3 separate regions of the Homo sapiens genome follow, and all the other regions are linked to region 3. The links are contacts of gene promoters, found by promoter capture Hi-C in blood cells and fetal thymus (Javierre and others, 2016). All regions are on one chromosome and are shown on one strand. Each heading gives the region's core, a stretch centred on a gene start or on the middle of the fragment in contact. The rest is flanking DNA. Distances are from core to core; before and after follow the strand shown. Region 1 has its middle 6.0 kb from the start of CACNA1H. Region 2 overlaps LOC107984906 (a long non-coding RNA gene). Region 3 holds the start of RHOT2 (ras homolog family member T2).

The links. Contacts are between HindIII fragments. The CHiCAGO score rates a contact against its expected background, and 5 or more counts as called.
Region 1: a contact is called between a fragment that was not itself captured here and the fragment with the promoter of RHOT2 in region 3, in 1 of 17 cell types (naive B cells). The highest score is 5.7, in naive B cells.
Region 2: a contact is called between a fragment that was not itself captured here and the fragment with the promoter of RHOT2 in region 3, in 1 of 17 cell types (naive B cells). The highest score is 5.2, in naive B cells.

Annotation. Positions count from the first base shown.
Region 1 is chr16:1,145,650-1,148,541 of GRCh38, reverse strand. No RefSeq gene overlaps it. Among named protein-coding and RNA genes, the nearest start is that of CACNA1H, 6.0 kb to the left of the region's middle. RefSeq lists an enhancer at 2,779-2,892. The HindIII fragment of the contact is 202 bases long and covers 1,304-1,505 here.
Region 2 is chr16:1,109,559-1,112,258 of GRCh38, reverse strand. LOC107984906 (a long non-coding RNA gene) reads right to left here. Exons shown (of 2, transcript XR_007064936.1): 1 at 1-2,700. Among named protein-coding and RNA genes, the nearest start is that of C1QTNF8, 15 kb to the right of the region's middle. The HindIII fragment of the contact is 1,716 bases long and covers 441-2,156 here.
Region 3 is chr16:666,882-669,409 of GRCh38, reverse strand. RHOT2 (ras homolog family member T2) reads right to left here and starts at 1,278. Exons shown (of 19, transcript NM_138769.3): 1 at 1,174-1,278; 2 at 999-1,057; 3 at 841-922; 4 at 711-754. The coding sequence starts at 1,210. WDR90 (WD repeat domain 90) reads right to left here. Exons shown (of 41, transcript NM_145294.5): 40 at 2,421-2,505; 41 at 1,580-1,978. The coding sequence ends at 1,821. RefSeq lists silencers at 811-900, 1,001-1,100, 1,161-1,500 and an enhancer at 886-1,567. The HindIII fragment of the contact is 48,981 bases long and covers 1-2,528 here.

The sequences.
Region 1 (2,892 bases), core at 155-2,654, 480 kb before region 3:
GCACTGCGCGGAAGAGGCCGTGGCCTGTGAGGTGGCCCTTCCCTGCCCTGGACAGGCTGTGGAGGGGCTGCAGGCGGAGGCTGGGCTTGGGAGTGCTTGAAGGATCACTGGGCTGTGGAGGGGCCCGCAGGCCGCCTGGGGACCTGGGGAGGGAAGCTCCGGGCCTTTCTCTGGCTCTGCAGACGCACGGCCTGGGTTCAAATGCCAGCTCCACCACTTCCTGGCTGTGTGGCCTTGGACATGTGTCTTACCCTCTCTGAGCCTTAAATTTCCTTCTCTGGAAAATCAATGCTTCATCAAATAAAAAGTGATCATGAACAGGCAGTTCCTCAAATGATTAAATATGGAATTACCATGCAACCTGGCAATTTCTGTTCCGGGTGTGCCCAAGAGGAATGAAAATGTGTGTCCACACAGAACTGTGGACTCGGGTGTCCACAGCAGCATCGTTCACAAAAGCCAAAGGTGTAGACATCCCAAGTATCCCACAGATAAGCAGATAAAATGTGGCCTCTTCATATGGTGGAATATTATTCAGCCATGAAAAGGAATGACACAGCCGGGCGCGGTGGCTCACACCTGTAATCCCAGCACTTTGGGAGGCTGAGGCAGGCAGATCAGGAGGTTGGGAGTTTGAGACCGGCCTGATCAACATGATCAACACGGAGAAACTCTGTCTCTACTAAAAATACAAAAATTAGCCGGGCATGGTGGTGGGCGCCTGTAGTCCCAGCTACTCAGAAGGTTGAGGCAGGAGAATCGCTTGAACCCGGGAGGTGGGGCTTGCAGTGAGTAGAGATCACGCCGTTGCGCTCCAGCCTGGGCAACAGAGCAACATTCTGTCTCAAAAAAAATGACATTCTGACACACGTGGATGAACATTGAAGACATCACACCAAGTGAAATAAGCCAGACACAAAATGACAAACATCATAGGATCATTAGATGAGATTTTCAGCACAGGTAAATCCATAGAACAAAGAGGGGTGGCTGCCAAGGGCTGGGGGAGGGGGGGTGGGGGAGGGGAGACGTCTAGCAAGCAGAGGGTTTGTTTGGTTTGGATGTGTGGCCCCCCCTCCAAATCTCATGTTGAAACGTGACTTCCAGGGTTGGAAGTGGGCCTGGTGGGAGGTGTCTGCACCAGGGGCGGATTCCTCAGGAGTGGCTTGCTGCTGTCCAGTGATGATGAGTGCTTTCTTGCTCCAGTAGTTCACACAGCAGCTGGCACCTCCTCCTCTCCCTGGCACCCTCTCCCTCCATGTGACTTTTGGGTTCTCCTTCCTTTCTGCCATGATTGGAAGCTTCCTGAGGCCTCCCCAGAAGCAGATACCTGCGCTGTACTTCCTATACAGCCTGTAGGACCGTGAGCCAAATCAACTTCTTTTCTTTAGAGATCACCCAGTCCCAAGCATTCCTTTACAACAACACGAAACAGACTAACACAGAAAGGGGTTTATTTTAGGGCGGTGACAGTTGACACCACCATAAAAGCTGCAATCCAAGCTTTTATGGGGGCCAGGCAGGAAGATCATTTGAGCCCAAGAATTTGAGACCAGCCTGGGCAACATACTGAGACCCAACCCCGTCTCTACAAAAAAAAAAAAAAAAAAAATGAAATAAAATTAGCCAGGTGTGGTGGTGGTGCCTGTGATCTCAGCTACTCGAGAGGCTGAGGTAGGAGGATCACTTGACTCTGAGGGGTCGAGGCTGCAGTGAGTGGAGATTGTGCCACTGCACTCCAGCCTGGGCGACAGAGCGAGACCTGCAGAGACGGCTGCACCGCTGGGTGCACTGAAAACTCACCCATAAGTGGGTGAGCCGTCCGTCCGTGTGTGAGCTCCGCCTCAGGCTGTGAAAGCAGTCATGAAGGATGGGAGCCCGCACGTGACAAAGGCTCAGAAAGAGGGAGGCCATTTTTAACAGCTCCCTGTGGGGGCGGAGCCAGAGGGCGTGGCCTCATGGGAGGAGACAGAACCCAGGATGGAGCTGGGCTGGGGGAGCAGAGCCTTCAGCCTGTCCCTTGGGGTCCGCAGGATCTCGGAGGCCCTAGGGGTGGGGCTGCCTCTGGCCTGGGCCAAGGCCTTGAGGCCGGGGTGGACACGTCTGGTTCAGTCTCCTGGACCCAAATGTGTCAGGGAAGCCTCCTCCGAGGGCATGGGGGGCAGGGAGCTGAGTCTGGGGTGTGTGGGGGTGGGCAGAGGGCACGTGCCTGGCAGCACCCAACTCTGCCTGAGCTGCTGAATCCCCCGGATCACTGTGGAGTGGGAAGGAGGAGGGGTTGACCTGGGAGGGAAAGTGACAGGATGGGGTGAGCCCAGGCCGGGTGCTTCCAGACAGACTTCAAGGGGCCGTGGAAGGCGCAAAGCAGACATGGGTGCCCCTCTCCCCTGCTTGGTTCCCTCACCAGCCCCCAGCTCTGCACAGCCCCTCTGCTTGCAGGAAGGGCTGAGCTGGTGCAGAGTCACGGGGTCCTTTCTTAGGGAGTCCTCAAGAGGTAATGCAGCAGGTCCCCCAGATCCCAGGTCTGGCCACCAGACCACCCTCAACACCCCCACCTCGCCCTACCCCAGCCCAGGCCCAGCCCCGGGAGCTCCAAGGAGATCCACACAAGAGGAGCCCCTGAAACGTGGGTCTGCAGGCAGCCCCGGGTCCGTCACCCCTCCAACCCTCAGGTGCCGGGTGCCCCAGCTCTCGGCTCGGCCAGGCGAGGCCCTTGGAACCACAGATGACCACGCGTGGGCCTAGAGTGTGTGTTTTTGGGGGAATTTCACCCGGGGGCTCCTCAGAGAAGGTGCCAGGCCGCCCAGGGACATCTGAGGAACCAGCTGAGCCAGACCCGGGGCGGGGGCCTGTGCGGAGGGGCCGGGGTCAGGCACGGGGGGCGGCCCCCAC
Region 2 (2,700 bases), core at 49-2,548, 440 kb before region 3:
TCCCTCCCCAGGACGACCGAGCCTTTCCCAACTGCCAGGCCTCTGGCCAGCTTCTGGGGGTCCATTCCAGGCCCAGCCTCTCTGCTGCTGGATGCCGGCAGCCTCTGGCTGTCTCGGGCATCGGCTGCAACGGTGTCCCTCCTGTCGCTGCATCCTGACAAGCAGCTGCTTGAACTCCTCCAGGGTCGGAGGGCTCACTCCCTGCGGGATGCACAGCCTTCAGCCCATCGCTGTGTAACTAGAGTGCCTGGTGGCCGCATACCCCACCTCCTGGCACAAGCCGTGCCTCCCGTAGGCCTCTCTGCTCTTGGGGTCTAGACCTCCCTGGGACTGCGCCTGACCCGTGGGGGGACACACAGCCTCTTTCCACTGTTTTCCAATGATAATTTCACTGCGATGTAGCTTGGTACAAATGCCTTTTTCCTTGTATTTAAAAAGCTTCCCCCTCATTTGCAGTCATTTCCTAGGGCTGTGTTCAAAGGCTAGAGTTGCCCACTCAGGTGTGGGAACGGGTTACGTCTCTGGAGCGCGCACTACAGTTTTTTCTAGAAAGCAGGACCGGCCGGGCACGGTGGCTCATGCCTGTCATCCCAGCACTTTGTAAGGCCAAGGTGGGTGGATCATGAGGTCAGGAGTCCAAGACCAACCTGGCCAAGATGGTGAAACCCCGTCTCTACTAAAAATACAAAAGAATTAGCCAGGTGTGGTGGTGGGTGCCTGTAATCTCAGCTACTCAGGAGACTGAAACAGAGAATTGCTTGAACCTGGGAGGTGGAGGCTGAAGTGAGCCGAGATCATGTCACTGCACTCCAGCCTGGGTGACAGAGCAAGACTCCGTCTCAAAAAAAAAAAAAAAGACACCAGGAAGGCGGAGCTTGCCCTCTCACGTTGCCAGGGGTCCATTCCCATGTTTTGAAAGTCACGGTCTTTAAGGCTTTTCAGGTGGGTTTTAGCAGGATTTTAAAAATAATTGGCCCAGTGTAGTGGCTCACGACTGTAATCCCAGAACTTCAGGAGGCCAAGGTGGGTGGATCTCTTGAGCTCAGAAGTCTGAGACCACCCTGGGCAACCCTGTCTCTGCAAAATATATAAAAATTAGCTGAGTGCGGTGGCAGGTGCCTGTAGTTCCAGCTACTTGGGAGGCTGAGATGGGAGACTCGCCTGAGACTATGAGTTTGAGGCTGCAGTGAGCCGCCATTGCACCAGTGTGCTCCAGCCTGGGCCACAGAGTGAGACCCTGTCTCAAAAAAATAATAATGATATACCCAAATGGGTTGAAAACGGGTCTTCAGACAAAAACGTGCACAGACATGATTACCAGAGTGCAGCTCACAGTCTCCACAGTGCAAACACAACTCAGCCAGGAGAGGGGACCGGCCTCAAGTCACCACATCAGGGCGGAGCGGGACACAGAGGACCACATGCTTGAGACTCCTCTTCCACACTGTGCTCAGAGCAGTGAGTTGCGGTTCCCAGCATCTGGGGAGATGGGAGTAACCACGCATGGGCTGAGGGCTTCCTTTTGGGGATGGCAACGAAAGATTCTGGAACCAGATGGCAGCGATGGTTGCACAGTGCTACGAATGTGCCAGACGCCACCACACTGCACGCTTTACGGCAGTTAAAACGGTGAGGTTTCTGTTACGTGATTTACACCAGAATAAAACCATAGCGGTGGCCGCGAGCGGGGGCTCACGCCTGGAATCCCAGCATTCTGGGAGGCTGAACGGGTGGATCATGAGATCCGGAGATCGAGACTAGCCTGGCCAACATGGTGAAACCCTGTCTCTACTAAAAATACAAAAATTAGCCAGGCGTGATGGTGGGCGCCTATAGTCCCAGCTTCTCAGGAGGCCGAGGCAGGAGAATTGTTTGAACCCAGGAAGCGGAGATTGAAGTGAGCTGAGATCACACCACTACACTCCAGCCTGGGCGACAGCACAAGACTCCATCTCAGAAAAAAACAAAACCAAAAAACAAAAAAACAGTGATGATAGTGACGATGATAACAAATGCTTCTCAGGCACCTGCCGCCTGTCGGGCACTGTTCTGTGTCTACCTTCACTCCCAGGCCATGCCCTCACTGTCACTGACTTATGGATGGAAGGCCCAGGCACTGCAGGCAGCTGGCACAGCTGAGGTAGGAAAGTCAAGCTTCCCTGCGTGCTGGCGGGTGGGCGTGGGCTGCAGCAGAACCTGCCTGGGCCTCAGCCCCCTGCCCCTGTTCCCCTGCCCTTTCCTCTCTGTCCCACTCCGTTCCACCAGGCAGAAGTTTCTTCGTGAAGTCACTTTCATATCTATGAGACCATCCATCTTGCTTCCAACGATTCCTCCAATCCCTTCAACACTCAGACATTTATCTTCCCGCTGCAGTCGGGATCTGCAGTCAGGATCAGCGTGTGATCTCATCTCACCCTGGAGTTTTATGGCTCCCTCTGAACGTGGTTTAACTCGGCCGTATCTGGAAGGCCGGTTCCGGGTGGGTGGTGAAGGTGAATGGGACGGCGTCGGGCTTGTCCCCGCGGCCTGGGACTTCCCCAGGTAGGGAGCCAGCATAGCCCCGGGGGGACCTCGGATGGGGAGCCTGTGGGACCGTCACCCTACCTGGCCCTGCGTGCCCAGCCTCCTCTCCCTCCACCAAGCACGCCCAGGACTTTCCCTGGAGGAAACTGCACACCTTCCTGCTTCACCCGCAAACAC
Region 3 (2,528 bases), core at 29-2,528:
AGCCTTCCCTAAAACCTGCCTCCAGCCTGGTGTTGGCAGAGCAGGCACTCCCCAGTGTCACACTGGGAGCTGCTGCTGAACCCTCAGAGAAGCCTCTTCCCCGCCCACTGCCAGTGCAGGGACACCAGGCCCCAGAAGCATAACTGTGGTCAGCAAGACCCTTGGAGCAGAGGGCTCAGGACAGACACGGCCACACCTGCAACCCAACACCCTGCAAGACAGCCGCCGCCTTGGCCCCTGCCTCCCCCCTCGCTACAGACAGAGTGACAGGACCGCAGTGAGGGGTGCCAACAGCAGGGGCTGCCCTGGGTGGCTGTGGCCTGTGCCCTTGCCTGGAGATGTCCCCGGCACACGTGCTCTGGTACTGGGAGCTCCGGGTGCCCGGAGGCCGGGACGGTGGGCTGGAGCACACAGCACGGGGACGTGGCGCACACAGAGCCCACAGGAAGAGCAAACGCTGCTGCCACCCCGGCAGGAGGGAGGGAGAGCCCGCGGGGAAGGGTCCTGTTATCCCTGGAGCACCACTGGACTGAGCGGTGCCGGCTCCCAGCGGGGTGCGCTGTAGGGGCCCCGACAACCCTCAGTGCGGAGGTCACAGAATTATCAGGGCCAAGGACACCCGGAGCACCTCGGTCCAATCCCCCAGGCTGCGAAGCGGATTAGGCCGAGCCCGCGCCCAGCCCCTCCCTCGTCCCGCGCACCACGGGTACCTTGTGGATCTCCTCCCGCAGCTCCTCGTCCGTCTGCTCGGCTTCTAGGGGGACAAAGAGACTCCACTGCGGACCCAGCAGGCCCGCCGGACCGCTGCGGGCCGGGCCCCCGGGAGGCTACGGCCGCTACCTGAGTAGTCCACGATGTGGGTGGGCACCTTCTCCGGGGTGACGTCCGCGGGGATGGTGATCTCCTCCGCGCGGGGAGGGACCTGCAAGGGACCCGCGCGCTCACCAGGGACCCCCGGCTGGGCCCGCTCCCACCCCCGCGGCGGGCGTGCCCCTTACCTCCTCGGGGAACTCCTCGCCCACCAGGGACAGGATCAGCGACGTCTTCCCCACCTGGGCTGCGCGGGGCGAGGCGGTCAGCGCGAGGGCCAAGGTCACGGCGCCCCCCGACCCCCGAGACCCTCACCCCGCCTCACGGCCGCCGCAGCTCCGAGACCCCCGGGCCGGCGCCTACCCTCGCCCAGTAACAGGATGCGCACGTCCCGCCTCATAGCTGCCGCCCGGAGCCGCTCCCCGACCCGGAACCCGGCCCCGACCTGGTCCTCAAGCCTTTCGCTCTGCCCCCGCGCCCGCCCCGCACTTCCGGTTCTCGGCCCCGCGCTGTCCCCACACTTCCGGCCCCGCCCGCACAGCCGCACCAGCGAGCCGGGCGGGCCAGAGCGGACAGGCTGTGCGGCGCGCCACCGTGTGGACGCGCCGGCCACGGCGGACAGCGCAGGGTCCTGGCGCCCTGGCAGGCCGAGCGGCCATTGCTTCACGGCACCACAGGGGCCTTGACAAACAGCCGATTAAGGGACGGGCAGAGGCTGAGCTCAGGCCAGGAGTGACCAGAGACAGCCAGTGCAACAATGCAGCAATAATGCAATAAATGCCCATGTTTATTACAAGATAGAAACATTAAAGATTTCTTAGGCAAAAGGGCAACAGGTATGAAAGTATTCACAGGGCGCCAAATTTACAACAGCTTGCTCCAGGCGATTTACGTGAATCCTGGCCTGTCCCAGCATGAGGCCATTGACAACCTGGCGCCTCTGCCAAGCCTGTGTCCAGGTGCCTGGCATGACCAGGCGTGATGCCCACCACCACAGTCCCTGCTGCATCTCAGAGGCCGGGGACCTCCCACACAAGGATCTCGTTGCGGGCGGCCGTGAAGAGCAGCCTGGCGGACGGTGTAAACCTGCACAGGTGCACTGCGTTGTCGTGGCCGGCAAAGTCTTGGGCAGTCCCCATGGCACAGTCTACCAGCCTCAGCATGCACTCTGTGGGTAGACGGTGCAGGTGGGCCAGGGCCAGGACCAGGCAGCACTCAGAGGGCTCCCCCAACCCACCCAGACTGTCCCCACTGGGCATGATGCTGGTCGGGGGAGCTGGTGCTAAAAGGGCTCCTGGCTGTGCCCTCCACGTGCCACTGGGACTAGGGGGTCCATCACTGCCAGGCTGTCGGCCTGCAGCTGGGCCAGTTCCCTCCTTAAAAGTCGCTGCCACCCGTGCATTCAGGCCCTGTGCTGGGCGCTGTGCCTGGTTCCTCACCTGCCTCATCATCTCCTGACTCCAGGACCCTCTCTAGGGCAGATGTCCTCACCCCACCCCAGAGACGAGGAGCCCGGGGCACAGGTGAGGCACCTGTCTTGGAACAGGGCACCAGTCAGCCCACTTGGCCCCCACCTAAGACAGGCCCAAACTGCATCCACCAGCACTCACCAGCAAAGCCAACAGCCAGGAGGTGGGTCCCGGGGGACAGGCTCAGGGACATGGCAAAAAAGGGCAGTGGTATCTTCTCCACCACCTGTGAGCAGCCAGCGTGAGGCT